7 separate regions of the Homo sapiens genome follow, and all the other regions are linked to region 7. Evidence: promoter capture Hi-C in 16 types of primary human blood cells and fetal thymus (Javierre and others, 2016). All regions are on one chromosome and are shown on one strand. The core of a region is centred on a gene start or on the middle of the fragment in contact, and the rest is flanking DNA. Distances in the headings are between cores, read along the strand shown.

Region 1 (3,841 bases), core at 810-3,309, 140 kb before region 7:
CAGAATTGACATAACAAAACCAAACAAAAAATCTCCTGAAACAAATAAGCTATTATAGCAAAGTTGCAGGATACAAGGTTAATGTACAAGAGTCTATTTCTTTCCTGTATACAGCAAGGAACAGTTGGAATTTGAGTTAAAAACACAATACCAGCCGGGCATGGTGGCTCACGCCTGTAATCTCAGCACTTTGGGAGGCCGAGACGGGTGGATCACCTGACGTTAGGAGTTTGAAACCAGCCTGGCCAACGTGGTGAAACCCCGTCTCTACTAAAAACAAATACAAAAATCAGCCGGGTATGGTGGCGGGCACCTGTAATTCCAGCTACTCGGGAGGCTGAGGCAGAAGAATTGCTTGAACGTGGGAGGCGGAGGTTTCACTGAGCCGCAATCGCATCACTGCACTCCACCCTGGACGACAAGAGCAAGACTCTGTCTCAAAAAAAAAAAAAATTACCATTTACATTAGCACTAAAATATTGAAATACTTAGGTATAAATCTAAGAAAATATGTATAAGATCTATATGAGGGAAACTACAAAACTCGAATGAAAGAAAACAAAGGAATCTAAATAAATGGAGAAATAGTTCATGTTCATGGAAAGGAAAATTCAATATTAACAGGTCAGTTCTTTTTCCAGTTGATCTATAGATTTAATACAATCCAAATCAAAACCCCAGCAACTTAGTTTGTGGATATCAACCAGCTGATTCTAATGTTTACATGGAAAGGCAAAACCAAATAGCCAGTATGGTATTGAAGAAGAACAAATTTACAGGACTGACACTACTACTACTTCAAGGCTATAATATAAACATACAGTAATCAAGACAGTGTAGTACTGGCAAAAGTACAGACAAATAGATCAGTGGAACAGAATTTAGAGCCCAGAAATAAGCCCACACAACAATAGCCACCAAAAATAGCCATTCGTTTTTGACAGAGGAGCAAAGGCAATTCAATAAAGAAAGAATAATTTTTTTTAGCAAATACTGATGGAACAACTAGATATTCACACGCAAAGAAAATTAACTTTAGACTCTCACCTTATTACACCTATCACAAAAATTAACTCAGAATGGATTCTAGACCTAAATGGAAAATGGAAAACTATAAAGTTTCTGGAAAATGACATAGGAAAAATTCTAGGTTGACCTTAGGTTTGGCAATGAATTTTTAGATACAACACCAAAAGTATAATTCATGAAAGAAAAAATTGCTAAGTTGGACTTCATTAAATTTAGAAAACCTTTTCTCTGCAAAAGACAATGCTAAGAGAATGAAAAGACAAGCCACACATTGGGAGAAAATATTTGCAAAACACATGTCTGATAAAGGACTTGTATCAAAAATATACAAACAACTCTTAAAACTCAACAAAAGGAAAATAAATAACCAAGTTAAAAAGTGGGCATAAGATCTGAACAAACCTTACTAAAGACATACAGATGACAGACAAGCATATGTAAAGATGCTCTACATCATATGTCATTAGGGAATTGCAAATTTTAAATAACAATGAGATACCACTACACTCTTAAACTACTAAAATCCAAAACACTGATAATACCATATGCTGGTGAGCATGTGGAGCAACTGGAACTCTCTTTTATTGCTGGTGAAATGCAAAATGGTATAGCCACTTTGAAAGACAGTTTGTTAGTGTATTACAACACTAAACATAGTCTTACCATACAATCCAGCAATTGCACTCCTTGTTATTTGCCTGCATGAGTTGAAAACTCATATGTTACCTAACAAATGTTATAGCAACTTTATTCATAATTGCCAAAAATTGTAGACAATCAAGAATTGCTAATAGGTGAATGGATAACAAATTGTGCTGTATCTATATGATGAAATATTATTCAGCAATAAACAGAAATGAGCTATCAAGCCACCAAAAGACTTGGAGGAAATTTAGATGCTTATTGCTAAGTGAAAGAAGCCAATCCAAAAAGCCTATATATTGTATGACTCCAACTCTACAGCGTTCTGGAAAAGGCAAAACTATGGAGCTAGTAAAAAGATCAGTGGCTGCTAGAGATTAACAGGAAGAGGGGAGGGATGCATAGGTGGAACATAGGGGATTTTTTAGGACAGTGAAACTATTCTGTATGGTACTCAAATGGTAGATACGTGACATTATGCATTAGGCAAAACCCATATAACTATACAACATTAAGGGAGAACCTTAATACAAACTATAGACTTTAGTTAATAATCATGTATCAATATTGGTTCATAAGTTGTAACAAGTGTCCCAAACTGATGCAAGATGTCAATAATACGGAAAACCATGAGTCTGGGGGTGGTGAGGAAAGGGAGAGTATATGGGAATTCTCTGTACCTTCTGTTCAATTTTTCTTTAAACCTAAAACTGCTCTAAGAAATAAAGTCTATTAATTAAAAGGAAAAAAACTAATACTTTTTTTTTTTTTTTGAGATGGAGTCTCGCTCCGTCACCAGGCTGGAGTGCAGTGGTGCGATCTCGGCTCACTGCAACCTCCACCTCCCGGGTTCAAGCGATTCTCCTGCCTCAGCCTCCCAAATAGCTGGGACTACAGGTGCGTGCCACCATGCCCAGCTAATTTTTTTGTATTAGTAGAGACGGGGTTTCACCATGTTGGCCAGAATGGTCTCTATCTCTTGTTGGCCAGGATGCTCTCTATCTCTTGACCTGGTGATCCACCCGCCTTGGCCTCCCAAAATGCTGGGATCACAGGCGTCAGCCACTGAGCCACTGCTCCTGGCCTGAATACCTTTTTTAAAATTAATCCAAGGCCACTTTCAAAATGAATATCCCCCTTTTTTTCTTAACCAAAGTCACGTTTTCCTATCTTTCTGAATGAAGCAAAAGGGTTGATGTGTAAGAATAAACCTTAATAAAACATCCCATTCACTATATTCTGACTAGAAAGGAAAATGATATTTGGTATTTCTCCAACATCAAAGTCAATTGGAAGATTCTTAAAAGCCACAGTTCCATAAGATATTACATTTCTAGAAAAAGAAGACATAACAAAGAACAGAGTTGCATTTTTGAAAATTAATGGTAATAGTCTCCCCTGATTCAGACACTTACAGGATTTCAATATATTTCTTCACTCATAAAATTAATTTTAAATTGTTAAAATGATCAGTTTCAATAGCTGAAGAGTAAATAGCGTAGCTAGCTGTAAGTTGGTATATTAATAAACAGAAAAGGATAGGCATGGTGGCTCCTGCTTGTAATCCCAGCACGTTGGGAGGTCAAGGTGGGAGGATTGCTTGAGCCCAGGAGTTTGAAGTCAGTCTGGGCAACATAGTGCGACCCCATCTCTATAAAAAAATTTTAAAAATTAGTCAGGCATGGTAGTGTGTGCCTGTAGTTTCACCTATATGGGAGGTTGAGGCAGGAGGATTGCTTGATCCTAGGAGTTTGAGGCTGCAGTGAGCCATGCTCATGCCACTTCACTCCAGCCTGGGTGACAGAGTGAGACACTGCCTCAAAATAAATAAATAAATTACCAGGAGAAGGATATTTATTAAGATTCTGCTTTGCAGGGCCGGGCGCGGTGGCTCACGGCTGTAATCCCAGCACTTTGGGAGGCCGAGGCGGGTGGATCACGAGGTCAAGAGTTCAAGACAAGCCTGGCTAACATAGTGAAACCCCGTCTCTACTAAAAATACAAAAATTAGCTGGGCATGGTGGCGTGTGCCTGGAATCCCAGCTACTTGGGAGGCTGAGGCAGGAGAATCGCTTGAATCTGGGAGGTGGAGGTTGCAGTGAGCCGAGATTGCGCCACTGCACTTTAGCCTGGGTAACAGAGTAAGACTCCATCCTGAAAAAACAAAAAA
Region 2 (4,079 bases), core at 63-2,562, 200 kb after region 7:
ACCAAAGAACTGGGTTTGAACTCAGACTCTTCCTTTCCCTTTTATTGGTTGTATGTTCCTAGAAATTATCTAATCTCTCAGAACCTTGATTTCCTCATCTGTAAAATGGGGCACAATATCTACCTCAACAGGACTGATGGAAGATAAACTGGAATAACAAATGTTAAGGATTGGTACATAGTAGGTACTCAATAAATGTGAGGTAGGGAGCATAAGATAGTGGAAGATCTGTCATCAAGTCCAAGACATGCCCCTAAAGTGATCTCAACTGAAATGGAAACAATGATCTACTTGCTTCCAAGAATTACTATGTGAGGGGCAAAGCAGAAAATGCATACAAAAGGAAACAAGATAAACACATGAACCCTGGAAAGGGATAAACAAATAAACATCTACTTAGAGGTCTCAAGTGCATACTTTTAAGAGCATAAACGGATAGCCATCATCATTTTATCAAATTCTCTGGATGATTCCATTTAACTCGAATCCCTTCTCCAGCAGGGAACACTTCTGTGTCATTCAGGCAACAAACACTGACAAGTACAACAAATACTAAGAGAGTGCTTCCTGTGTGCCAAGTGCTGTGCTGGAAGCAGAGGCTGCTGGTGGGCTGCAGATCTTGCCCTCATGGTGCTTACAGTCTAGGAGGGTGACTCACTGATTATAAATATGTGCAAGTGCCGCAAGGCAGAGTGCCAGTGGCTACGAAGGCATAAAATAGTGGGGGTGGAAAGATGGAGGGAGACCTTAACTGAGCCTGGAGGACTCCTAATAAAGGTGATATTAACAAATGGCTACCCATAGTGGCTTTTGGTGACTGTGACAGGAGAGAAGGAAGCGGAACAGGTCACAGAAATTACATACCAAGGTGGGTGTAAACCCAGCTCAGCATGGCTAACTAAAATTAAGAATGCAAGTAATAAAAGTTCTGCCATTCACTGCACCCAATAAAGAACTGAAGAAGCTTCCCTCCATCTAAACACAGTCTAAACAGAAAAGTGGCTTATTTCATCCCAGCCCAAGCATCAGAGGTGGAGGCAAAGCTTCTGTTTCCCCAAGCAAACTTTGTCAGTTTTGCCAGACCACCTGTTTTTCCAGACACCACACACGGTTCAAATGGCTCATGGTTTTCATCCACGAGCTTTTTCCTTCTATTCATTCAAAATCCACTTCATGGCCACACACCCCCAGAGCATTTTAAAACTGGGTGCACCACTGACGACTCATGTGGAACATATGGGCAATCAGTCCTCTCTCTGGCCCCCTGCTCTCTGGCTGTGACAGACCACAGGGAGCAACACCCTCCCCGGAAAACACCAACTGTACTCATCTGTCTGGAGTTTGTACATTTGGGAAGTTGTACAAAGAGACCGGTGCTGATAAAACTGGAAGGCTGACCATCAAATAAATAGATCTAAACCCTTACCAGAAAGAAGGAAGGAAAGGAACCGGGGCATTCCTCTGTGGGTTTCCACAGCTCTCTTGGCACCCAGAAGAATCAGCTTGGAGAAACCAGTGAGATACTCTCCTCCCTGGGCCTATTAACTTCCTCTCCTCACCCCACTGCCTCCGCCAAGCTTGTTAAAGTGCTATTTAATTCCGTTCCCTGAAAACTCTGGGTCTTCTCTTCCTTCCTATTTTGGCAAAGGTGGTTGCATCCTCCCTCACTGACCGAATGAAGTCAATGCTCATGGTGTAAAACAGTTTTAATGTGTGACACCTCACATCTGCCAATACAAATTATTAATGAGGTTCATTACTAGTTATATTAGGCTTTAGTGTGTAAAAAAGAGAGAGGCATCATTAGCCAAATTCTGATGAAAAGGACCCAGCAGCTCCAAGGGGCCTACATTAAGTGTCTTGTCTCACACAGCCTCTACTTAATACGGGCCACTACTTAGGAGTAATTGAATCAAAGCTAGAACACAAACCTCCACAAAATTGGGATTAGGAAATAAACTACAGATGTTCCAATTGCCTTAGGCCCAGAAACACCACAGTTAAGCCCAGCAAGGCAGGAGTTACTCCAACTGACCACACCTGGGTATGGGTACCAATGCCCAGAGAAAGCAGATGAAGGCAGGTAAAGGAGGAACGAAAGCATGAATAGACCTGCAGTGACACTGTCCATGGAGACTTGAAGATAATCAGAAAAAAATTATCAGCACATCCAAACTGCTTTAAACTGCAATACCTCAACCCCACAACTCCAGGGAAAACAATTAAATAAAAATTAATTGCATTTTAAAAAAGTAATTCAATCAATATTCCCTCCTTTAGCTTGGCACAAACCAAACCACCTTAAATAAGCAGAGTTATGACAGTCTCTCCTGAATTTTCACTTCACAGTTTTAGGAATATCTATTCTGGATTTCTTTCCCCACCAGTCCCCACCCGTCAACTTGCAATTTCAAAGGGACTCAAAGAAACAACTGAATCACCGGTGAACAGATTACAAAGCAAGGGGCAGCAGACAAGCCAAAGTAAACATACGGTAAAATTCCTAAGCCATTCCTAAACAATGCTTGTGAGGACATCAACATCATTAGCTAATGAGGGAATGAAAAGATGGATGTGAAAAACTATAATGCTTTGGAAAAATAACTCCTTTAAATGTTCATTACTATAATGGCTGTTTGGTTGAAGTCCAGGACTGCAGGTCGACTTTAAATCAAGTCCACATTAAACAGAATGGGCTCGCAAAACACAGGCAGAAAGATGTGAAGCATTTGCCCATGCTTGCTTTGATCATGGAAGCTTTATTCCTTTACAGAATTCTGCATTAACACCATAGTACACACATACATGAAAATCTGTGTGCCCTAGAAGTGTTTATGTATCTGTTTCCCCTATAAGACAAGCTCCTTGAGGGCAGGGAAACTATCTTTTTATTTCTGCACATCCCATGTGTTGCATAACCCCAGACACGTAATAATTGCTCCAATGAAATGTTAAACTTATTGGCAAAATAACAGTTAATTTTGAAAAAATCAAAAGGGAAAATAAGACCATTGGTGTAGGCCACAGCCTTAAGAACTGGGAAATGACACACTATCTCAAGTTACTGTTTGCAGAACGTACAACATGATGCAGCATGCTTGTGCTGATAAATTCAGTTGTGACTTTACCTAGGAATTCACTGTTAGGAGTAAAGAGGATAAAATCAAAGGTATTATAGAAATGGATAGTGTAGCCAGCACAATGTTTAAGGGGAGATATATCCAAAAGGAGATCAATCAAATTTGTATTATGTGATCATTTGATACCTCATTCATTAAATTGCTAAAAAAAAATTGGTGCCACCCTGACAAGCTTTCTTGAACAAGGGAGGCATGTCCATTTGGGGAGCTGTCATCTGCTGCAGATGCACACACAACACATGTAAAGTGTCCCTGCTACCCAGGGCCCTATCAACTCTTAAACCTTTAATCATTTCTCTACCACTTTACATCAGAATTAAAAGGCATATAGCCTTAAAAGGCAAATACCCAGAGTCCATCTGAAAAATTTTTACTTTTCTTCATATCAACCACCTGAGGCAGGTGTAATGCAGCTTAGTGGTTCCATGCAGGTGCTCAAACTCTAGCTCCACAACTTTAAAAAAAAAAAAAGAGAGACAGGGTCTTGCTATGTTGTCCAGGCTGGTCTCAAACTCCTGGGCTCAAGCAATCCTCCTGCCTTGGCCTCCCAAAGTGCTGGGCCACCGTGCCCAGCCTTCACCACTTATTTGGGGCAAGTATCTTAACCTCTCTGAGCCTCAGTTGCCTCCCAAAGAGGAGGATAATAAGAGAATCTGAATATCTTGAAGGTATTCTGAGGATTAAATTAGTTAATGCACATGAAATACTTAGCCTGACACCTAATTAATCCTTATTGTGTATCTCCTATTATTGTATATTATCCCACTTGCTACTCTATTCATCACTCCTCTGCTCGCCTTCCCTGCTCCAACACTGCAGCAGAATTTAAGAGAGAAGGAACAAGTTAATGCACAGTTCACAGCTATTTCAGCCATCATGAAATTACTGCTGTGGCTGTCAGCCTTGCCTCCATATACAAATGTTGAAAGTTAAAGCCTC
Region 3 (3,912 bases), core at 1,099-3,598, 210 kb before region 7:
GCTCAATGAAGTGATGTTTTTATTTGTTATTTTACTTTTTAGCTCCAGAATTTCTATTTGGCTCTTTTAAAAATAATTTCTAGCTATTTGTGTTCTGTATTTGATGAATTATTGTCACCATACATTCCTTTACATCTTTACGCAGAGTTTCCTTTGATTCTTTGAATATACTTTTAATGACTGCTCTAAAGTCTTTATTAAAAAGTCAGCCATCGAGCCCTCTGTTATGTAATTTCTCTTGCATCCTTTTTTCCTGTGTATGGATCAAATTTTCCTGTTTCTTTTCATATCTCATGCATTTTTTATTAAAGATTTGATACTTTAGACAATTTATTATATAAATCTGGGTATTGATTGCTTCCCCTTCTGAAGCTTATTGATTTTGTTTACTTATTTATTTGTTTACTGACTTGACTGGAGTGCTTTAGTGAAGTCCAGTTCCCCAGCTCAGTGTGAAGCTTCTGATGTTGCTCCTCAGAGACTGCAGCCTTGACCTTCCTTAGACCCTTCACCCTGGGATGATAGTGGTTTTACCAGTAATCTTTGTCTTTCCCCATCTCTCTGTCAAACTGTCTGCCTTTTAGTATCCACCCAGCTGTTAGAGTCCACTAATTGCTAGCTGATTGCTCTGTTGTTTTTGACAATGCCCTGGGGGAATAAATTACTCCATTGTCTAATCTGATTAAATTTAGGCTCCTTTGCAGAGGTAGTTTTTGAGTTCAATCTTGAGGTTTGCTCTGATCCCAGGAAGGCTCTTCTTAGCCATTTCTTCCCTAGCTTTTTCTGGTAAACTAGTGGTCTGCAGTTTAGCTTGTTGCTTTTAGAAGGTACTAGCCTCCTCTTAATTGCTTACAACCAAAATATCCATTGTTTTTAAGAGCACCTTTAGGTTCAAGTTTTCCCCTACTCCGTTCCAAATAAACTAATTTCTTCTGGGAAGAGCTTCAGAATTTTCTTTTCTTATGGATGTTTCTCCCCCTGAGCAAAATCTCTGAGCCACTGCTCCAGCCAGAGCTGAGGATGGGGACAGTCACTTTCTTCTCTCAGAGTAACTCTCCTTCATTTTTTTTTTTTTTTTTTTTTGAGATGGAGTTTCACTCTTGCTCCCCAGGCTGGAGTGCAGTGGCACGATCTCGGCTCACTGCAACCTCCACCTCCCGGATTCAAGTGATTGTCCTGCCTCAGCCTCCCAAGTAGCTGGGATTACAGGCACACGCCACCATGCCCAGCTAACTTTTTGTGTTTTTAGTAGAGACGGGGTTTCACCATGTTGGCCAGGCTGGTCTTGAACTCCTGACTTCAAGTGATCCGCCCACCTCGGCCTCCCAAAGTGCTGAGATTACAGGCGTGAGCCACCACGCCTGGCTGACTCTCCTGCTTTATAAGCAAGGCTCTGCAAGGGGGAAGTAGCTTCCATTCATTCTTCTCAGCTTGCCTGTCCTTGCTTGGAACTCGCACCCTATATGTGAGCTGCAATAAGGGCAACTGGGGCTCCACTACTCTCAGTCTGCTACACCTGGGATAGAGCCACTGCTCTGTGAATGCAGTCTGAAAGGAGGAAAGGAGTCCCCAGTCTTTCCATTCTCCAGGCCACACTCATCTGGAATTTAGCCTTTGCAACAGAACATGAGAGCGGGTAGAAATGCTGGCAGCTTGTCCCTCCAGGGAGATACACAATATGGTTTGGATGTTTGTCCCCTCCAAATCTCATGATAAAATGTGATTCCCAATGTTGGAGGTAGGGCCTGGTGGGAGGTGATTGGATCATGGAGGTGGATCCCTCACGAATGGTTTAGCACCATCCTTTTGGTGCTAAGTGAGTTCTTGTTCAGTTAGTTCACACAAGATCTGGTTGTTTAAAAGAGTCTGGGACGTCCTCTTTCTCTCTCTTGCTCCCTCTCTCACCATGAGATGTGCTGGCTCCCCCTTCACCTTCTGCCATAATTGGAAGCTCCTGAGGCCTCACTAGAAGCCAAGCAGATGCTGGTGCCATGCTTCCTATACAGGCTGCAGAACCATGAGCCAATTAAACCTCTTTTCTTTATAAATTACCAAGCCTCAGGTCCTTCTTTATAGCAACACACGAGTGGACTAACACAGAAAATTGGTACCAGGATTGAGGCATTGCTACAAAGATGTGGAAGTGGCTTTCAAACTGTAAACCAAAAGGTATCTAGAACAAATCTCAATCAATTTAGAAAGTTTATTTTGCCAAGGTTAAGGACACACTGGTGACACAGCCTCAGGAGGTCCTGAAGACATGTGCTGAAGGTGATTGGGTTGCTTTTGTACATTTTAAGGAGACATGAAACATCAATCAATATGTGTAAGATATACATTGGTTTGGTCCGATTAGGCAGGACAACTTCATTTAGAAGTTTTATTCCTAAATAAGACATTGTTCTCAGCTTGACTTTTCCCTTGGTTTAGTGATTTTGTGGTTCTGAGATTTATTTTCCTTTCATAGAGTAATGAGCACAGGAGTAATGAGCAGAGGCTGGAAGAGTTTGAAGGGCTCAGAAGACAGGAAGATGAGGGAAAGTTTGGAATTTCCTAAAGACTGGTTAAATGGTTGTGACCAAAATGCTCATAGTCCTCTACTGGGATTTGGGAGAAGAAGGAGCCCCATCTTCTTGGCCATACCCACCTGTGTGGAACTTTCCTCAAGGTGGGCAAGGTGGTAGAAGCAGCAAGTCATGTGAGGCATGAGTGGCATGTGAGGCATGAGTGGCATGTGAGGCATGAGTGGCATGTGAGGCATGAGTGGCATGTGAGGCATGAGTGGCATGTGAGGCATGAGTGGCATGTGAGGCATGAGTGGCATGTGAGGCATGAGTGGCATGTGAGGCATGAGTGGCATGTGAGGCATGAGTGGCATGTGAGGAGTGGCATGTGAGGCATGGTACTTGAGAGTACCTCTGACTAACTATTGCTGTTCTTACCAAGATGTAGTAGATTTTCTTGAATAAACAGTTCTTCATTTGCTGTATAACCTTTGGGCAGTTTCAATAAACTTTAAATGGTTGTTTTTAAAGTGCTTCACCAGTTACAGTTGTTTCATGGGGAGTGAGGCCACAGAGCTCTTTAAGCTGCCATTCTGCTAGGTATGCATTTAAAGGCATAACTCCTATCTTCAGGTTGCTCATCATTTAGTACAGAACAATTCACTTCAAGTACATAAGTACAATTTTAGTGTGATTAATACCGTGCAAGAGTTAAACACCACACAAAATGGGAACACTGAGGAGAATCTCCTAATCCAGTCCCTGAGAGGATAGGCTTTCTAAAGTAGAAATGAGTTGTGAAAAATGCAGGAAATTAAGGAGATGAAGATGAAATAAGAAGGGTGTTGCAGACACAGAGAGAAAGCAACTACAAAGGACAAAGAGGTCAGAGAGCGTGTTAGAAGGTTACATCACTGGGACACAGGACGCAAGGGAAAGAAGTTAGCAGAATTTGGACAAATAGGCAAGAGGTCTCAAGGCCTGGAATGCCTTGAGTTGGAAGATTTTTCTCCCTGGATTTCTCAGTGCTCCTGAACCGTTTGAGTAAAGGATAACTAGATATCAATCTTAAAGAAGAAAATTCGGAAGAGATCTAGAGACTTCTCTCACTTGGAACCATTTATTTACATTCCAAGGTGGTAAAGGAAAATTAAAGACCTGCCCTTTCTCTCTCACTATGATTATGTTATTTCTATATTTCAAATGTTCTCAATGGGAACAGTATAATGAATGTAAAACAGTAGTTGTCCTTGGAGGTGGAGTGCCAAAGGACTTTACTTCTTACATAATTCATTTCTGTATCTTTATAACATTTTACAAGGAATATGATTACTTTTGTTAACAGGAAAAAAGTAATTTTAAAATTTAGTAGCTATTGGCCGGGCACAGTGGCTCACTCTCGCCTATA
Region 4 (3,776 bases), core at 117-2,616, 170 kb after region 7:
AAGAATCGAAAATGTAAATTAAATGAAGGATGCCTTAGGATCTTCAAAATACTCCACTGCAATTCCTCCCACTTAAATTCCCAGGTAATGTAATTCTGTGCTGGAAGGCCTACCTGATACCTCCTCTGTGAATGAGGACAGAGGCTCTGAAGAGACCAAGCCCAGCCCATCAGGTCCAAAGCTTCTGGTGCTCCTAATGGACCAAAAGGAGTGGGGTGAGTTCTCCTGAAGAAGTCAAATGTCCTCTCTGGAAACCAGGAGAGGACTCTTGGTATAGCACCAGGATGCCAGGCAAGACTCTGCTCTCCAGAACTAAGAAGGGGTTGGCTGCAGTGGCTCACACCTGAAATCCCAACACTTTGGGAGGCCAAGGCACACCTGAAATCCCAACACTTTGGGAGGCCAAGGCAGGAGGATCACTTGAGTCCAGGAGTTCAAGATTAGTCTGCGCAACACAGGGAGATCTCATCTCTATAAAAAATAAAAAATAGCCAGGTGTGGTGGCATGCACCTGTAGTCCCAGCTGCTTGGGAGGTTGAGGTGGGAGGATCACTTGAGCCTGGGAGGTCAAGGCTGCAATGAACCACGATTCCAACACTGCACCCCGGAGAGCCCAGGTGACAAAGTGAAACCCCATAATAAAACAAAACAAAACAAAACAAAAAAGAACTAAGAAGGTACTTTTCTTCTCCTCTGATAAGACGTCCCTAGGGACCTCATGGCAAAGGAGACCCTGGAGTAAGAAAGAGGAACCACAGAAGAGTAATTGTGCATCCCCTCCACACCGTGTGTCCCCTACATGAAAGAACACATCAAAAAAGCACTTTCCACATGAGCTCGCCACTCCTCGTTTCTGCTAAGTAGACCCTTCCAGAAAGGGAGCATACGTTCTCCTTACTAGGAAGAGGTACTAAACAGAAGTGACAGGTGTGACCCTGGCTGGAGATGGGGAATATACTCCCTGCAGCCTCACAGCCCCCTTCTTTCTTTCACACCTCTCTGGGTTGCCTAGAGACAGTGGTCATCGGCCCCACAAGTGAGCCTCCTTCTTTGCAGGGGAACCCCCACAAGAAAGGAAAAATGTCTTAACACACTGAAGATACCAGGTTAAAAACAAGATATAAACTAACCGAGAATAATTCTACATTGTTGATTCTCATCATCCATTGTAATGGAGGAAGAAGGCAAAAGCTCCAGCAAAACCAAAACAAGAACTCAAAACTACATATTTAGCATACATAAGCATTTCAAGATGTTTTAGAGACTTGTTTGCTTAATTATTCATTGCTCAGTCTGCAGGGAAACTTTGGAAGACTCTGAATCTGAGGAGGCATTAGAAAATAGATGAAGCCTATATCTCTATCCCAACAGTTATTCTATGATAACACCTTTACTCCTCTTGGTCTTCTGGAGGGAAGGAGACGAAAGCTCCACAAAAGAGGGAACGTTTGTACAATGCCTAGAAATTCAGGTGATGGTTTTCCAAGTGGACCTGGGGAGGGGGGGCATCTACACAGAGACGGGGAGTGTGCAAATGCACAGAAGATGTATAGGGGTTACAGATGATCAAATGTAAGCTGTGTAAATGAGACAAGTCAGAAATAGGACTGCAGAGGAAAGTGCATCCAATCAATAATGGCCTCACGACATGCTGGCAGGCTGGTCCTTATCCCAGGGCAATGGGGAGCCACTGAGGGGTTTCAATCAGGAAAGTTACAAGGTCATACCTACATGTCAGATCCCGATACATAACTGTTGGGATTATAAGAGGAGAGAAGCTGGTGGTGGGAATTCATGTTCAAGGCAAGTCCAATGGTCTGAGTGAAAGACAGTGGTGACCTGAGCTAAGGCAGCAGTAGAAGGGATGGAGAGGAGAGGGCAGATAGGAGAAAGACATAGGAGGGAGCAGCAGCTGGACTTTTCGTAACTGATGCAGGTAGGGTGGAGGTGAAAGAGAAGGAGTCAGAATCACAAGGCAATGATGATCCCTGGTGCCATTAACTGAGACAGGGACTCCAAGGGGGAAGCAGAACTGGAGGAAAGACAAAGAGTTCAATGTATGACCTTTACCTATGACATCTGAGCATCTACTGGGCTGTCCTTAACAGCTTCTGAAAATTCAGATGGAGAGGGAGGAACACCACAAATTACAACCCAATGCGGTCTCAACTGAATAGGTCAGTGGCAACATCAAAAGCACTATTCAGTGCTGGGTGTGGCGGCTCACATCTGTAATCTCAGTATTTTGGGAGGCCAAGATAGGAAGATCACTTGAGGCCAGAGCTCCAGAACAGCCTAAGCAACAAAATAAGACCCCATCTCTATAAAAAAAATTAGCCAGATGTGGTGGTACATGCTTGTAATCCCAGCTACTTGGGAGGCTGAAACAGGAGGATCACCTGAGCCCTGGAGTTGGAGGCTGCAGTGATCACACCACTTCATTCCAGCCTAAGTGACAGAGAGAGATGCTGTCTCAAAAAAAAAAAAAGAAAAAGAAAAAGAAAAAAAAAGCCCTAGGAGAGGAGCAATCACTGGGCTAGGGCGAAGCTTTACCTGGGAAGTGAGACCCTGAATTGAGGCCTGAAGGCAAGTTTCAATTAGTGGGAAGTGAGACCATTCTGAGTCAGGAGCAACCTGTGAGAAGTGATAGAACTAATATCAGAACACACACTTGATCAGTGTCATTGGAGGAATGTCCATACAGGAGTAAGAGAGAAGGCTGGAGGCAAAACACAGAAAGAGCTACACCCAGAGAACTGTAACCTTAGATTGCAGGCCAAGGGGAGCCACTAGAGGTTTTTGATTATGTAAAATGATAGAGATTAACATGTAAAAGGAAGATTTTGTCTACTAGATGAATGAATAGACAGACAGCTATGGTCTAGAAGTATGAATGGTTTGCTAAGGGTGAAATCAGTGAAAATTAATAATCATGTGAAGAGAGCAAACAAAAGCAGTGGAAAGGCCAAAGGAGTATGGAGTTTGGGGCCTGGGTATCCTAGATCAGGGTCAGCAAACAGCAGCCCAAAGGCCAATGCCAGCTGCTGCCTATTTTGATAAGTAAAGTTTTACTGAAACACAGTCACAACCCTTTAGTTACATATTATCTACAAGATGAGTAGCTGTGATTGAGACCTTATGGCCCATGAAGACAAAAATATTACTCTCTGGCCCTTTACAGAAAGATCTGCCCATCTCTGTTGCCACTAATCAGCCAGGGAACTCAGGGAAAGAACATGTTTTAAAGGGAAAGAAATGAGTTTAAATTTGGACACAAAAGTACTCAAATAGAAATATCTGGCAAGATGTTGGAAATAAAGACAAATCATGTAGTTAAACATACGGCTGGGGTTATCATTTGGGAATTTTTCTCAAAAGGTAAACACTAAGTCTAAGAGCAGTGAAATTTTTCAAGAAAGAGCACAGGAAAAGAAGAAAAGAAAAAGCAAATTCACTAAAGGAGTGAAAGAAAGAACCAGAGAAAATACAATCTGAGAGGTGGGAGGAGTCCCCAAGTTTAGCATCATGGGACATGGAAACAAGCAGCTTCAAAAGAGAGGAGAAGCCAAATGTGCAGATATGGAAGATGAGGTCTTTAAAGGGGAGATGACAGTAGATGACCTGGGAGATGACAGGTAGACTTCTTCCATGATACCCACCCCATCATTAGCAATTCTGTTGGAAAGGTCATCCTTACATTAAGCTAAAGACAATCTATATCCCCATAACTTCCACCTGCAAATTTCATTACACCTCTAAAATTTACCCTGCCAACA
Region 5 (3,938 bases), core at 184-2,683, 240 kb after region 7:
ACAAAACAAACTTCAAGTCAAAAAGAATTATCAAAGTTGAAGAGTGACATTCCTTAATGAAAAATGGTCATTTCATCATGAAGACATAAAAAATATAAATGTTTATGTGACTAAAAAGCTTCAAGTATAAGAAGCAAGATATGAAAATTAAAGGAACAGGCCCAGCACAGTGGCTCATGCCTATAATCCCAGAACTTTGGGAGGCCAAGGTGGGAGGAATGCTCAAGCCCAGGAGTTCGAGACTAGCCTGGGCAACATAGTGAGATCCTGTCTCTACAAAAAAATTTTAAAATTAGGTGGGCATGGTGATAGACATCTGTAGCTGTAGCATCTGTAGCTACTCGAGAGGCTGGGGCAGGAGGATTGTTTGAACTCAGGAGGTCAAGGCTGCAATGAGCTGTGATCAGATCATGCCACTGCACTCCAGCCTGGATGACAGAGTGAGACCCTGTCTCAAAAAAAAAAAAAAAAAATTGAAGGAACAAATATACAAATCTGTAATCACAGTTGAACATTTTTAATTCACCTACATGTACTTTGTAGAACTAGACATAGATATGTGAATATAAATGATTTGAACACTATCAACCAACTTAACCTAATTGATAAATAGAGAATACTTCACCTAGTATCTGCAGAATAAACAACGATTTTCAAGTGCACATGGACTAGTTACCAAGATAGATCTCGTGCTGAAATATAAAATGTGGCTTAATAAATTTCAAAGGATTGAAAAATACAGAATATGCTCTCTAAACATAACAGAATGAAATTAGAAATCAATAACAATAAGATATCTTAAAACTCCCAAATATTTGGAAGTCCCACAACATAGTTCTAAATAACTGAGTTAAAGAAGAAATCACAGTAAATTTAAAAGATATTTTAGCCTGAATAATAATTTTAAAAATCAAAATTTGTGGATGTTCCATAGACAGCAGGTCTATGCAAACCTACCCCCCAAAATTAAGGTAGCTGAGATGTTGAAGAAAGAGGCTGACAAATCCGTTTTCTCAGAAAGAAACCTTTAATAGGAACTTAGGAACAGAAGCCATGTCTAGGGCAGCCATGAGATGAGATGGTGGATCCCCACACTTTCCCCCAACCCGGACCCAGGGCTTATATGCCATAAAGAAAGGCATGTAAGTCCTGCTTCAGAAGGACTGTGTAAAACAACTGAAGTGGACCCCTCTGGGAAAGGCAAGAATGCTATATGCTTCACAGCCTATAATTTGCTTAAGGCAGGATTTATGGTAAGTATTTGCTTACATTTTATGCCACAGATCACATAGTTATTAATAGAATAATAAGGAAATATTGTGCATAACATTATGCCAATAAATTCAACAACTTAGATAAATTGGACACATTTCTTGAAAAATACAACATGTAAAAATCTGACACAAGAAGAAACAGAAAATCTGAATAGCCCTGTCTCTGTTAAAGAAATAGAACAGGGAAAACTCTGTAGTGATAGAAACTAGGTCAGTGGTTGCCTATGTAGAATGTCAACTGAAAGAGAACATGAGAGAACTCTTGGGAATGATGAAAAAAATTCTATATCATAAACTTTTTGTGGTAGTTACAAGGGTGTATCATTTGGTAAATCCATAAAATTTTGCCTTTAAGATATGTACTTCTTTTTCAGACAGGATCTCATTCTGTCACCAAGGCTGGAATGCAATGGTGCAATCACAGCTCACTGCAGCCTTGAACTCCCAGACTCCAGTGATCCTCCCACCTCAGCCTCCTGAGTAGCTGGGACTACAGGCACACACTACCACACCCAGCTAATTTTGTATTTTTTGTAGAGAGAAGGTCTCACCATGTTGACCAGGCTGGTCTCCAATTCCTGAGCTCAAGCAATCCTCCTGCCTTAGCCTCCCAAAGTTTTGGGATTATAGGCATGAGCCTCAGTGCCTGAACAGATGTGTACATTTCACTGTATGCACACGTTACCTTGAGCATATAAGTTGCATGCCAAAAACTATGACATAAACACAAAATGTGAAACATTCTGACATTTTAAATCTTAAATATAATTGAAGTAAAAAAGTCCCCTGAGATATCTTAGGTACGATATATGCTAAAATGCAAAACATATCCTACAACTTTATTTGAAAAATGTTTATTTTCCTTCTGAATAAAAGTTCCAAAGTTCAAACCCAATCATATTTATTTCAGTGATGATAATAATGACTGTACTGATTCATCCTTCCAGATTTAGCTTGTGAACCTTCTTCAGTGTAATTTTTCTGGAACCACCATGATGAAGTAGAGTCATTGTCTGGGGTAAATACCTGAGGTTCCTTCTCTCAGCCAGGAAATCGAGGACATGGACACACGAGAAGTGGATTTAAGAGCAGAAGTTTAATAGGCGAAAGAAAGAGAAAAGAGAATCTCTCTCCTGCAGAGAGAGCGGGGCGCCTGAGTGGGTCTTCCGGTCCCATGGTGAAGTACACAGGTTTTATAGACTGGCTTGAGGAGGTGGTGTCTGATTTACATAGGGCCCAAAGATCGGTTGGACCAGGTGTGATGTTTACATAACAGGAGAAGAAGCTGACCACCCCACCCTAATCTTTTATTCTGCAAATGGATTTTCTACCTTGCCAGTGCCACGTTTTCTGTTCTTTACCATTCACAAGGTTGACAAAAGGGAAGATGGAACTGCCATGCTGAACATGCCTAGCCCCCAGGTAGCCTTTTCCTATTGTCACAGCTGCCAGCCATTCACCCGTGCAAGCTTGCAGCTTGCTTATCAGTCTGCAGCTCGATTTTTCAGCCTGCTTTTGTTAGAAAAGGAAGGATTTGGGGGCTACTTTTCATTAAAAGGAAAACCTTACCAAGGACTTCCTTACCCTCACTATCTGCCTAAATATTTCTCTTTAACTCCTATATCAATGACGATTTAAATTCTCCCTCTGTTCCCTTGTCTCCCAGTATACATCTCCCTTACAGCACCTGTATACTGTGTTCTGATGGTCTAAATATAGTTATTCTCCTCTACCCCACATTGTGATCTTTGAACATAAGACTGTGCTTTTATCTCATTTTCCCAGTGCCTGTCATATTGCCAGGCTTAGCAGGTGCTCAATAAATTCTGTTTCATCAAGTGCTTGAATGATAGTCATATGGAGATTCTTTCAGTCAGAATATACTATTGGTCTTGAGAAGATGATTTAAACATTTTTTCCTTTGAATTTGATTCCCTTCCTGTTACATGTTATCTAAGAAAACATATCCTACAGAAGTATTCCAAAACCCGAGAAAGAAAACACACAACAAAACAAAAAGATTAGATAGCAGATACTGAATGAAATGCTCAAAAATGCTCCAGTTCAATATTAAATGAAAAATAGAAAAGAGAAAGGAAAACTATATTATGAGATAAAGTGAAGTAGAGAAATGAGACTTTGGACATACACTCACAGGCTTTGGATTATAAGAGAAAGAAAAACTTACATATGGGGAAAGGATCTTTGCAATGGAATTACTTCCCAAAAGGTGAGACAGTATTCAAACTGATGAAAAATGTTATTTGTCCTTTGAAATGTTTATTTTAAAATAGGTTTTATAATAATGCATAGGTTTATGATCACATTTTCTTATATCAAATAACAATACAGTTTGTTAACTTCTGTAGCTATGTTCTAATTGCAGAGCTCTAGTTTGATTTTAGGTTGGGAGGGTGTATTCAAAAATATATAAGCTGAACTGAGAGGCTTTGCTTGTCTCAAAAAAAGGTCTCATGGGAGATGAAAGTAGAGTTGAAAACCTGAAAGGCAAAAGGTTGCAAGTTTACTGCAAGGTTTTGAGACAAGGATGCTGTGGTACTATTACAGTAGATAGCTAATCAGGTATGAGCAGGGCAGAAGAGGGCTCCTCCTGCCCCACCAGGAATGTCAGGCCAACATCAAGTGATGGTCAGGTGGTTGTTA
Region 6 (3,709 bases), core at 494-2,993, 140 kb after region 7:
ATCTGTAACAGGCAGCTCTAAAGTTAGAAACCACCACAGGCTTCTGAGTTGTTTTGGTGTCACTTCCTGACCTTATTTTTATGAGAACAGGCTTATAACAAAAACTGGCTGAAAAAGTACACTGCACAGCAGAAATAATCAGAAACAAAAAGAAAGTTTCAAAAAAATGACAATTCTGTCACCTGTATCACCTAACTGTACATATTTTTTTCTGATTATAACATACACAAATATGTGTCAGTTCCTTCTCCCTGTGGTCATTAAAATTTAAAGCACTGGGCTTTTGAAAGAATGTAAGAAAAAAATAACCTAGAAATTGTAAAATTTTTTGGTCCAAGTACCCCTTTGAATGGATTCTACTGATATTTGTCAAATTAGAAATTTAAATGGAGACATTTAAAAATATTTATCATTTATTAAAAACAATAACAATTCCATTACATGTTAGTATACACATTTTAATAAAATATAACTACATTTTCAAACATCCCCCCAAAGATAGAGAGAGTGGCATTATTTTACAATTTGCAAATCTCTTTAATGTCTGACTTAAAAGAAGACAGCTAGTGGGGAGGCGGGAGGGATAGCATTGGGAGATATACCTAATGCTAGAGGATGAGTTAGTGGGTGCAGCGCACCAGCATGGCACATGTATATATATGTAACTAACCTGCACATTGTGCACATGTACCCTAAAACTTAAAGTCTAATAATAATAAATAAAAATAAAATAAATAAATTAATTAATTAATTAAAAAAAAAGACAGCTAGATTCTTTCTTTTTTCTTTTTTTCTTTTTTTTTGAGACAGAGTTTCGCTCTGTCACCAGGCTGGAGTGCAGTGGCACAATATTGGCTCACTGCAACCTCTGACTCCCTGGTTCAAGTGATTCTCCTGCCTCAGCCTCCCGAGTAGCTGGGATTACAGGCACGCACCACCACACCCAGCTAATTTTTTTTTGTATTTTTAGTAGAGACGGGGTTTCACCATGTTGGCCAGGATGGTCTTGATCTCCTGACCTCGTGATCTGCCCGCCTCGGCCTCCCAAAGTGCTGGGATTACAGGCGTGAGCCACTGCGCCCAGCCTGACAGCTAGATTCTCATATCTGCTTCTGTATTCAAGCCACTGTAATGTTGTTCTAGTTGAAGTACATGAATACAGTCCAGCCTCACACAGAGTAATTTAAAAATATAATTTTAATAGATTTTTCAGATAATTGCAGATATTCTTCTTTAATACCACACAAAAGTAAACAAGGCGTAGTTTCTCAAAAGTTGGTTGCAATATAAAACTGTATCAATGAACTTTTCATACTTTAAATTAATATACATGAGTCTACCTTACGCTTTCAAGAGATCCTTGACCCATAAATGATTTTATAACATCTCGTACTGGCCATTGTGAAAATACGTGTTCACTGAATCATTGGAAGTCATCTTCTAAATGTTGACATATCTCATAACACAATTTTTAAAAATTACAATCGTTAATAACAACAAACTCATGAGAAAAGAATAAGTACTGGGAAGTTGTCAAGCTCACAATGGTGGATATAAACTTTCCAAAATTCGAATTATGTTTTGAAGGCTCTAATTTTATCACTGGCACCAAATACTTACAGTTGTTTTCCCTGAAGTAACAGGCGCAGTTCATTCGTTTTTTAGACAATGTCTGAAAAATCTGCCAGTTCCACAGTATGGTTTGTCTGTCATTCTTTCAAAGTAAAAATGGTGTTCCATGCAAAAAGTGGCTAGCTCAGCTAACAACTCAATCACACAAGTGCTTTTCCTTGAGACACAACAGTATTTCAGTATGAAGCAGGAATGCTTTTAGCATATTTCCCATTTTGTCACACAGAATGTTACAAAGGTATATAGTCAAGGATTGACCTTTAATAACATGAATAATGTTTACTGTTCCATCAAAGACATTCTTAAGTGAAACTAGATTTCTTCCTCCTGCAACTACGTGGCCATCAAGAATACAATGATGACTTTATAGTTTGGTGCCATGCTTTTACCCACCATTTCTCTTTTGCACCATTGGGGCAAATGTCAACACAGTGGGGAAAAAAGGATGAATAAAATCTTCGTATTATAAGGAAAACAGTTTGGAACTGCAGACTTCCTGAAAATGTCTCTGGAACTCTCAGAAGTCTGCAGGATCACACTTTGAGAATGAATTTTAAAATTTCCAACAAAGCCACCACCTAGTTTTTTCACTTACAGTCAGTCAAAATAAGAGAAGTAGGTACAGTGAAGCCAATGATGACTGGGGTATAAAAAGGCAAATAGAGCTATCATACCTATGCTGAACTCACTGATTGTATTTTCATCTTCTGAGTTCTAGCTTAAGATGTACATTAAGAGAACCTACTGACAACAAAACCTGAGCAAATCTTAAACTCAATCTGCCTAGAGCTTTCTGGCCCATCCATGCCTGATGTCTGAGAATGCTGCACCTTTCCTGGGTGAATGTTGGTCCTCCAGTTTAAGGAGGAGGAACTCAAGGGAAGCCTTGCAAAAAGACATCATCCCAAAAGACAAGACTCTCTGGAGGGTGGGATTATGCTATCCTGAGGACAGTTTTCCTCTAAGATGGAATAAAGAAAAAAACTAAAATGCTGCCCCCCCACCCCCAACTCCTCAGATAGCTGGATGGTGTAGAAAGATCTTGGACCTCAGCATTGCAATCTGAGCTTGTGTCTGGGCTCTGGCACTTACTATCCAGGAAAGACCATAGTAAATTAGCGTCTCTGAGTCTGGTTCACCATTTGCATACTGAGAATTACAACAGCCTCAGAAATTTGTTATAGAGAGAAAATGGAATAATATATAGCATGGTATGAACACGTAGAGGTACTCAGTTACTAGGTAAGAGTTTATCCTGCTACCAGAAAATAAAATGAGGGCTCCCATTGCTATTTGCTAAATTACAAGCCAACTCCAGTGTCTGGTCCTCAGAAGGCATTCAACAAATGAGCTAGATATTATGGAGAAGACGAGAGAGCATCTATGACAAGGGACAATTAGTCTCAATCCTTTAAAAACATCATTCGCCCGTTTCCAGTTCCTATTCTCCCATTCCCTCAATTCCTTTCTTTCTCTCCTACCCTGTCTTCAACCTGATAGCCACAATTGCTTAGACCAGCAAAAAACAAACACAAAAACTAAAGTGGTCACTCATTCTTCAAGCTAATATGCCAAAAGAATAAATTTTTTTAAAGCTACATTTTAAAAAAATTAAATCAACAACTTGTCACCAGGCTTGAAATCTGAGAAAGGAATGCTATAAATCAACTACCACCAGAAATCACTTTTTCTCTTTAAAAATGACATGCATCTGAAGTGTTGATACAGGGGGTAACTGTGGGCTGCAGCTTCAAAGCAGTAACACATGCTTCATCTGCCTTGATGGTCCATGTGCCACATGACTTAGCAGAGAACGTAATTATTTGTAAACCAGTGGGCTTGAGACAAGAAATGTGAGCTAAAAACTGAGGCAATGGGACAAAAAGAAAAAGATCAGACTCTTATTCTGCACCATTGTGCACTGCCTTAGTAGAGAGAAAAAGCAGATGCCAAAATTCAAGTGCCTTTCCATTGTCTCCCCAGGACAAATGTATATCTTTTCCAAGTTACATATTAAATGTCTCAAATAAGGAACAATTCAAGGTTTTAGCAGAAGTAAAAGGCCTTTTTTTTCTAA
Region 7 (4,006 bases), core at 441-2,940:
GCAGCGAAGATATCATAGCTCTAGATGAAAGGCTTTTCTTCAAGATGTTCCCCCCACCACTGCTGTTTCGAAGTAGGTTCAATGACTGAGATTCCATTGCTCCATAGACCAAAAACTAAAACGAGCGCTGCCACACAGCTAAGCGATGTGTGCATAGAGATTCTCTGTATTTCCATCAGTTGGGAAACTTCCTTAGTGCTGGGCTCCTATCAAAATATGCTGGGCTAAATCTGCTTTCACAAAATAGCCAGGAAAGGTGTTTTGATCACTTCCTGAGCAAGGATTAGTACAGGATAATTCACTTTTCATGGCCGGAGTGTGGTTCTCAATTTCAAAGACACTGAAGCTAATTTAATTTCCCATATTGAAAGAAAATTGCCTTGGATAAAAAGTTTTGTTTTTGTTTTTATTTAAATCAGGTTATCTTTAAATAGACTCATGACAGTCCCCAAGCACCTCTTTCCAAATCTGATTTGTGAACAACACAAAAGTAATGCTGTGTTTATAAAAATTGTTTTGGAGCTGAATTTACAGAGAAAATCTTGTTGAAGGTGCAGACACGGAAAGACAGTGTTTGGAGGTACCTCCCACTGCCATGCCAGGTGTCCAGAGGTGTCAAGCTGCCAGTGTTGATTCAAATGAAAATGATAATGTTGAAGAAGGAGGCTGCAAAAGTTCCTAAGCAACCTGACGGGATATACCTTGTAAAATGCTTTCAAAAAAGCTTCAAAGGGCAGCTAATAAATGAATATACTGACAGGGTTTAATCGCTTCTCCTCTCTCCTAGTAACAGGAATTAAAGGCCACAGGTGGTTCTGGGTTGGAGGCAGGACCCAAAAGTAAATGCAGCATTCAGAGCTGCACAGGCCCAGTCAGAGCAGCTGCCACTTCAGGCACTTACAGTGGTCACCCAGGATTCAGGAGATGCATATTATAAGTAACTCAGTTCTGTAAGAGCTAGGAGTTAGTTCACACTGCTTGGGCTCTCACTAAGTAAGCCTGTGCAATGCAGGCAGGAAGGGAGAAAATGCTTACAAAAAAGAAATGAGTAGATTCTTGCCTTAGGAAAGTCAACGGGATACAATTCCTGATGGAAGAGCAGTTGCTATTCTAAGAGCTAATTAACAAGAAACAATGCTGCAAAAAACTTGGGAGACAGGACGGCAGAACACACCCAGATGGCCTGTGGGAAATTCCCAGGCCTGCCAATGATGTGAGAGAGGACATCTTGTGAATGGGTGGGTACAGCCTGTTCTTCTGGGCAAGACAAACAGTGCAGGACTCTATATGCCAGGGTGGCTGAAGCCCCAGTGTCCAAGAGGCTTGCCCATTCCTCCCTGCCCCTGGCACTGAACCCAAGCTTCCATGGGGCACTGTGGAAGAGGCCTTGCCTGACGACAAGTAGACCAAACACGACCGTCCGTCCTCTAAAAACTGCACCCTTGGAATTGGGGACAGGCAGAATAACCCTTTCACTAGCTTGATACTTAGCCTCTTGGGGTTCTGATAAATCCTTTTGAATAACCAAGCAGTTTTGTTTTTAATACCTTGGCCTGAGCCCTTTAGATGCAGCCATCCTCAACTTACAAAAAAAACAAACCAAAAGAAAAAACAAAACACACACACACACAAACAAACTTTGATTCAATTGACAAAGGTTTTCAAGGTGTCTACTACATGTAAGGCAGCACACTAGGGGTTTCTTGGGGATACGCAGATGACAAAGACAGTGTCTCTTCATCCAGGAGCTAATCAAGAGAAGGGGGAAGAATCAAGCAAACTTCATAATACACAGCCGGATGAAATGAAAAGAGACTTAGATCAAGTGCTGTGAGAGCTTGGAAGAGGCACGGGGCAAATAACACTGGGGCTGGTGGTGGGAAGGCAAGTGACAGCCTCGTGGAAGAGGTGGCATTTGACCAGAGATGAGGACGAACAGAATTAACATAGTAGGCATGAAGGAAGAAAATGCGCCTGAGGACACAGCCAGCACAAATGCAGAGGCATACAAGTGCCTGGTACAGCTGGCATGCAGGGATGGCTGAGGAACTGCGGGGGCAGCCGGTGGGATCCATCCGAGGTGAGTGATGAGAGCTGCACGGCAATTTAGGGGATGACACTAGCCACAGCGTGATGAATAAATCTTAAATGCAGAGGTAGCGCCTGGTGGTGAGCAGTTAGAGGCTGAGACAATAGCTGAGAACACATGACAAGTTCAGCAACTAGGAGAGTTTCTAGTTAATTGGAAGGAAGAGTTGGAAGCACATTCTAGAGGGCCGTGGAAGAATAAACACAATCCACTAACTGCCGGGAATGGGAGTGAAGAGTCCAAGATCACAGGGTCCTCCCTGGCTGCCTGATGGGGCAGTGGTGTTGAGTAACAGAAATGGAACAAAAGAGGGGCAAGAGATTATTCTTTGTAGCATGAGTATTAGTAGCAGTGTTAGTAGTAGTAGTATTTTTGTTAGTGGAACAAAGACAAAAATAGCTCACACTTACTGAGATCCTACAGTCTGCCAAATCTGGGAGGCTGATGGGCTCCGCTTTGCATTGGAGGTGTGTGGGCACCCACATGCAGATGAATTCTAGGGTAAATCTGGGGTGCAGGCCAGGGCTGGCCATCTAACGCTCAGAGACATTGAAATTTGAGTAACCACTGAAGCTGGGAGGGCAGGTTAGATTGTGGAAAGTGACAGAGACAGACTAGAACTGATACCAGCCCTAGGTCTCAGACACATTTTATTTGGCCTACCTAGTGTGTTTTGAAATAATTTTAATTACTTCTCAAATATTTAAACGCTAGGAAATGTCACATCACATGAAAAGTCAGGTTTTCCAACTTCTCGTGGAAAATGAGATACTCGGGAACACTGGGCCTGCACTCCTCTCATAGAAACGGCCTGGAGTTGAGCAGGGGCTTCTGCTTTTCATGGGGCACCAGATGCCCAGTCAGTCACATGCCCCACCACTCCCTATCACCTCCCACCTGGCTGGTATCACTCACGGACTTTCATGGCTCCTGACCCCTGGTGTAGGGTGAGAAGCAGCCAGAGTGGCAGCTGGAGGATGCCATGAAGAGGCCAGAGGAGGATGAATACCATGAAACAGAAACCAGGACCGGGAGAAGGAGGGTCCGGGGTGATACTAAGGGGGTAGAAGCTTTGTGTGTTGTGGTGGTGGTGGGGTGGCCCTTCTACCACTACCCCCGTCCAGTGATGTGGAGATGAGGAGTTAAGGGAACATTTAACATTAGTCCCAGGCCTGAAATCTTTCACAGTTCACGTTGGTGCAGATGGTGTGGAGTTGGAGGTGGATAGCTTGCCATCCTAGGCTGGGCACAGGCCTTTCCCTAAACTCTCTGTTCCTACTGCTGTGAATGGTGACAGCATAATCCTTTTGCAGAAAACTTTCATTATTTGCTTATGTCCCTAATGGGACCCAAATGCCAGTAAGTTAACAATTGTGCTCCTCGGGGCCATCACTTTCATCCACATTTAAGGTCACACTGAAAAGTTGCCTCACCTCAGCTGACTTTCTCCCTGACTGTGATCCAAGAGGGAAAGTCGGCCAAAGAGGAAAATAATGTGACTTCATGAAATATTCTGCACACATTTACTAAAGGAAGCAGAATGTTTTCTAGGGCCAAGAAAAGCACTTTATAAGCTGCACAGAGTGAGTGAGGGGACCAGGGTGGAAAATCTGGATTCTACCCCAAGTGTAAGTCTCAAACTGACTGGAGAGCAGGGGAAAGAGAAGGGTCAAGAACTCAGGGACTCATTTTATGTTCCCCTTCCTGCTGTGGCCCTCATTACAGTGGAACTGAACTAGAGGATACTCAAGGAATCAGAGGCACACCTGGCCCCGAGAATGAGACACTTAACAGTTTTTTTCCCAGACTACAGAGGAGGTGTGGCTGCAGGGGAAAGCAAGCAGGCATGCTCCCTCCTGACGCTAGTTCTAAGGGGACATGTAAAGGATTTGGGCCAAGTTTGTATAGGAATGTCCT

The links. Contacts are between HindIII fragments. The CHiCAGO score rates a contact against its expected background, and 5 or more counts as called.
Region 1: a fragment that was not itself captured here is called in contact with the fragment with the promoter of PRKCH-AS2 in region 7 in 13 of 17 cell types (neutrophils, activated CD4 T cells, naive CD8 T cells and 10 more); the score reaches 32.1 in neutrophils.
Region 2: a fragment that was not itself captured here is called in contact with the fragment with the promoter of PRKCH-AS2 in region 7 in 1 of 17 cell types (activated CD4 T cells); the score reaches 7.9 in activated CD4 T cells.
Region 3: a contact is called between a fragment that was not itself captured here and the fragment with the promoter of PRKCH-AS2 in region 7, in 12 of 17 cell types (neutrophils, activated CD4 T cells, naive CD8 T cells and 9 more). The highest score is 31.7, in neutrophils.
Region 4: a contact is called between a fragment that was not itself captured here and the fragment with the promoter of PRKCH-AS2 in region 7, in 1 of 17 cell types (activated CD4 T cells). The highest score is 5.3, in activated CD4 T cells.
Region 5: a fragment that was not itself captured here is called in contact with the fragment with the promoter of PRKCH-AS2 in region 7 in 6 of 17 cell types (total CD8 T cells, total CD4 T cells, non-activated CD4 T cells and 3 more); the score reaches 9.6 in total CD8 T cells.
Region 6: a fragment that was not itself captured here is called in contact with the fragment with the promoter of PRKCH-AS2 in region 7 in 1 of 17 cell types (activated CD4 T cells); the score reaches 9.0 in activated CD4 T cells.

Annotation. Positions count from the first base shown.
Region 1 is chr14:61,684,912-61,688,752 of GRCh38, reverse strand. The region is part of intron 1 of HIF1A-AS1 (HIF1A antisense RNA 1); the gene reads left to right. Among named protein-coding and RNA genes, the nearest start is that of HIF1A, 8.7 kb to the left of the region's middle. The HindIII fragment of the contact is 7,656 bases long and covers 1-3,841 here.
Region 2 is chr14:61,345,407-61,349,485 of GRCh38, reverse strand. The region is part of intron 1 of PRKCH (protein kinase C eta); the gene reads right to left. Among named protein-coding and RNA genes, the nearest start is that of PRKCH-AS1, 25 kb to the right of the region's middle. The HindIII fragment of the contact is 534 bases long and covers 1,046-1,579 here.
Region 3 is chr14:61,754,306-61,758,217 of GRCh38, reverse strand. No RefSeq gene overlaps it. Among named protein-coding and RNA genes, the nearest start is that of HIF1A-AS3, 5.2 kb to the right of the region's middle. RefSeq lists enhancers at 1,050-1,635, 2,338-2,837, 2,034-3,233, 2,838-3,339. The HindIII fragment of the contact is 3,776 bases long and covers 461-3,912 here.
Region 4 is chr14:61,376,937-61,380,712 of GRCh38, reverse strand. The region is part of intron 1 of PRKCH (protein kinase C eta); the gene reads right to left. Among named protein-coding and RNA genes, the nearest start is that of PRKCH-AS1, 56 kb to the right of the region's middle. The HindIII fragment of the contact is 2,366 bases long and covers 184-2,549 here.
Region 5 is chr14:61,299,548-61,303,485 of GRCh38, reverse strand. It overlaps PRKCH-AS1 (PRKCH antisense RNA 1), which reads left to right. Exons shown (of 5, transcript NR_186042.1): 3 at 2,222-2,696. It also overlaps a transcript of PRKCH not described here. Among named protein-coding and RNA genes, the nearest start is that of PRKCH, 20 kb to the left of the region's middle. The HindIII fragment of the contact is 2,625 bases long and covers 121-2,745 here.
Region 6 is chr14:61,399,892-61,403,600 of GRCh38, reverse strand. All of the region lies in intron 2 of PRKCH (protein kinase C eta), which reads right to left. Among named protein-coding and RNA genes, the nearest start is that of PRKCH-AS1, 79 kb to the right of the region's middle. The HindIII fragment of the contact is 3,947 bases long and covers 1-3,709 here.
Region 7 is chr14:61,543,168-61,547,173 of GRCh38, reverse strand. PRKCH-AS2 (PRKCH antisense RNA 2) reads left to right here and starts at 1,690. Exons shown (of 3, transcript NR_188139.1): 1 at 1,690-2,080. The region is part of intron 12 of PRKCH (protein kinase C eta); the gene reads right to left. The HindIII fragment of the contact is 1,799 bases long and covers 1,363-3,161 here.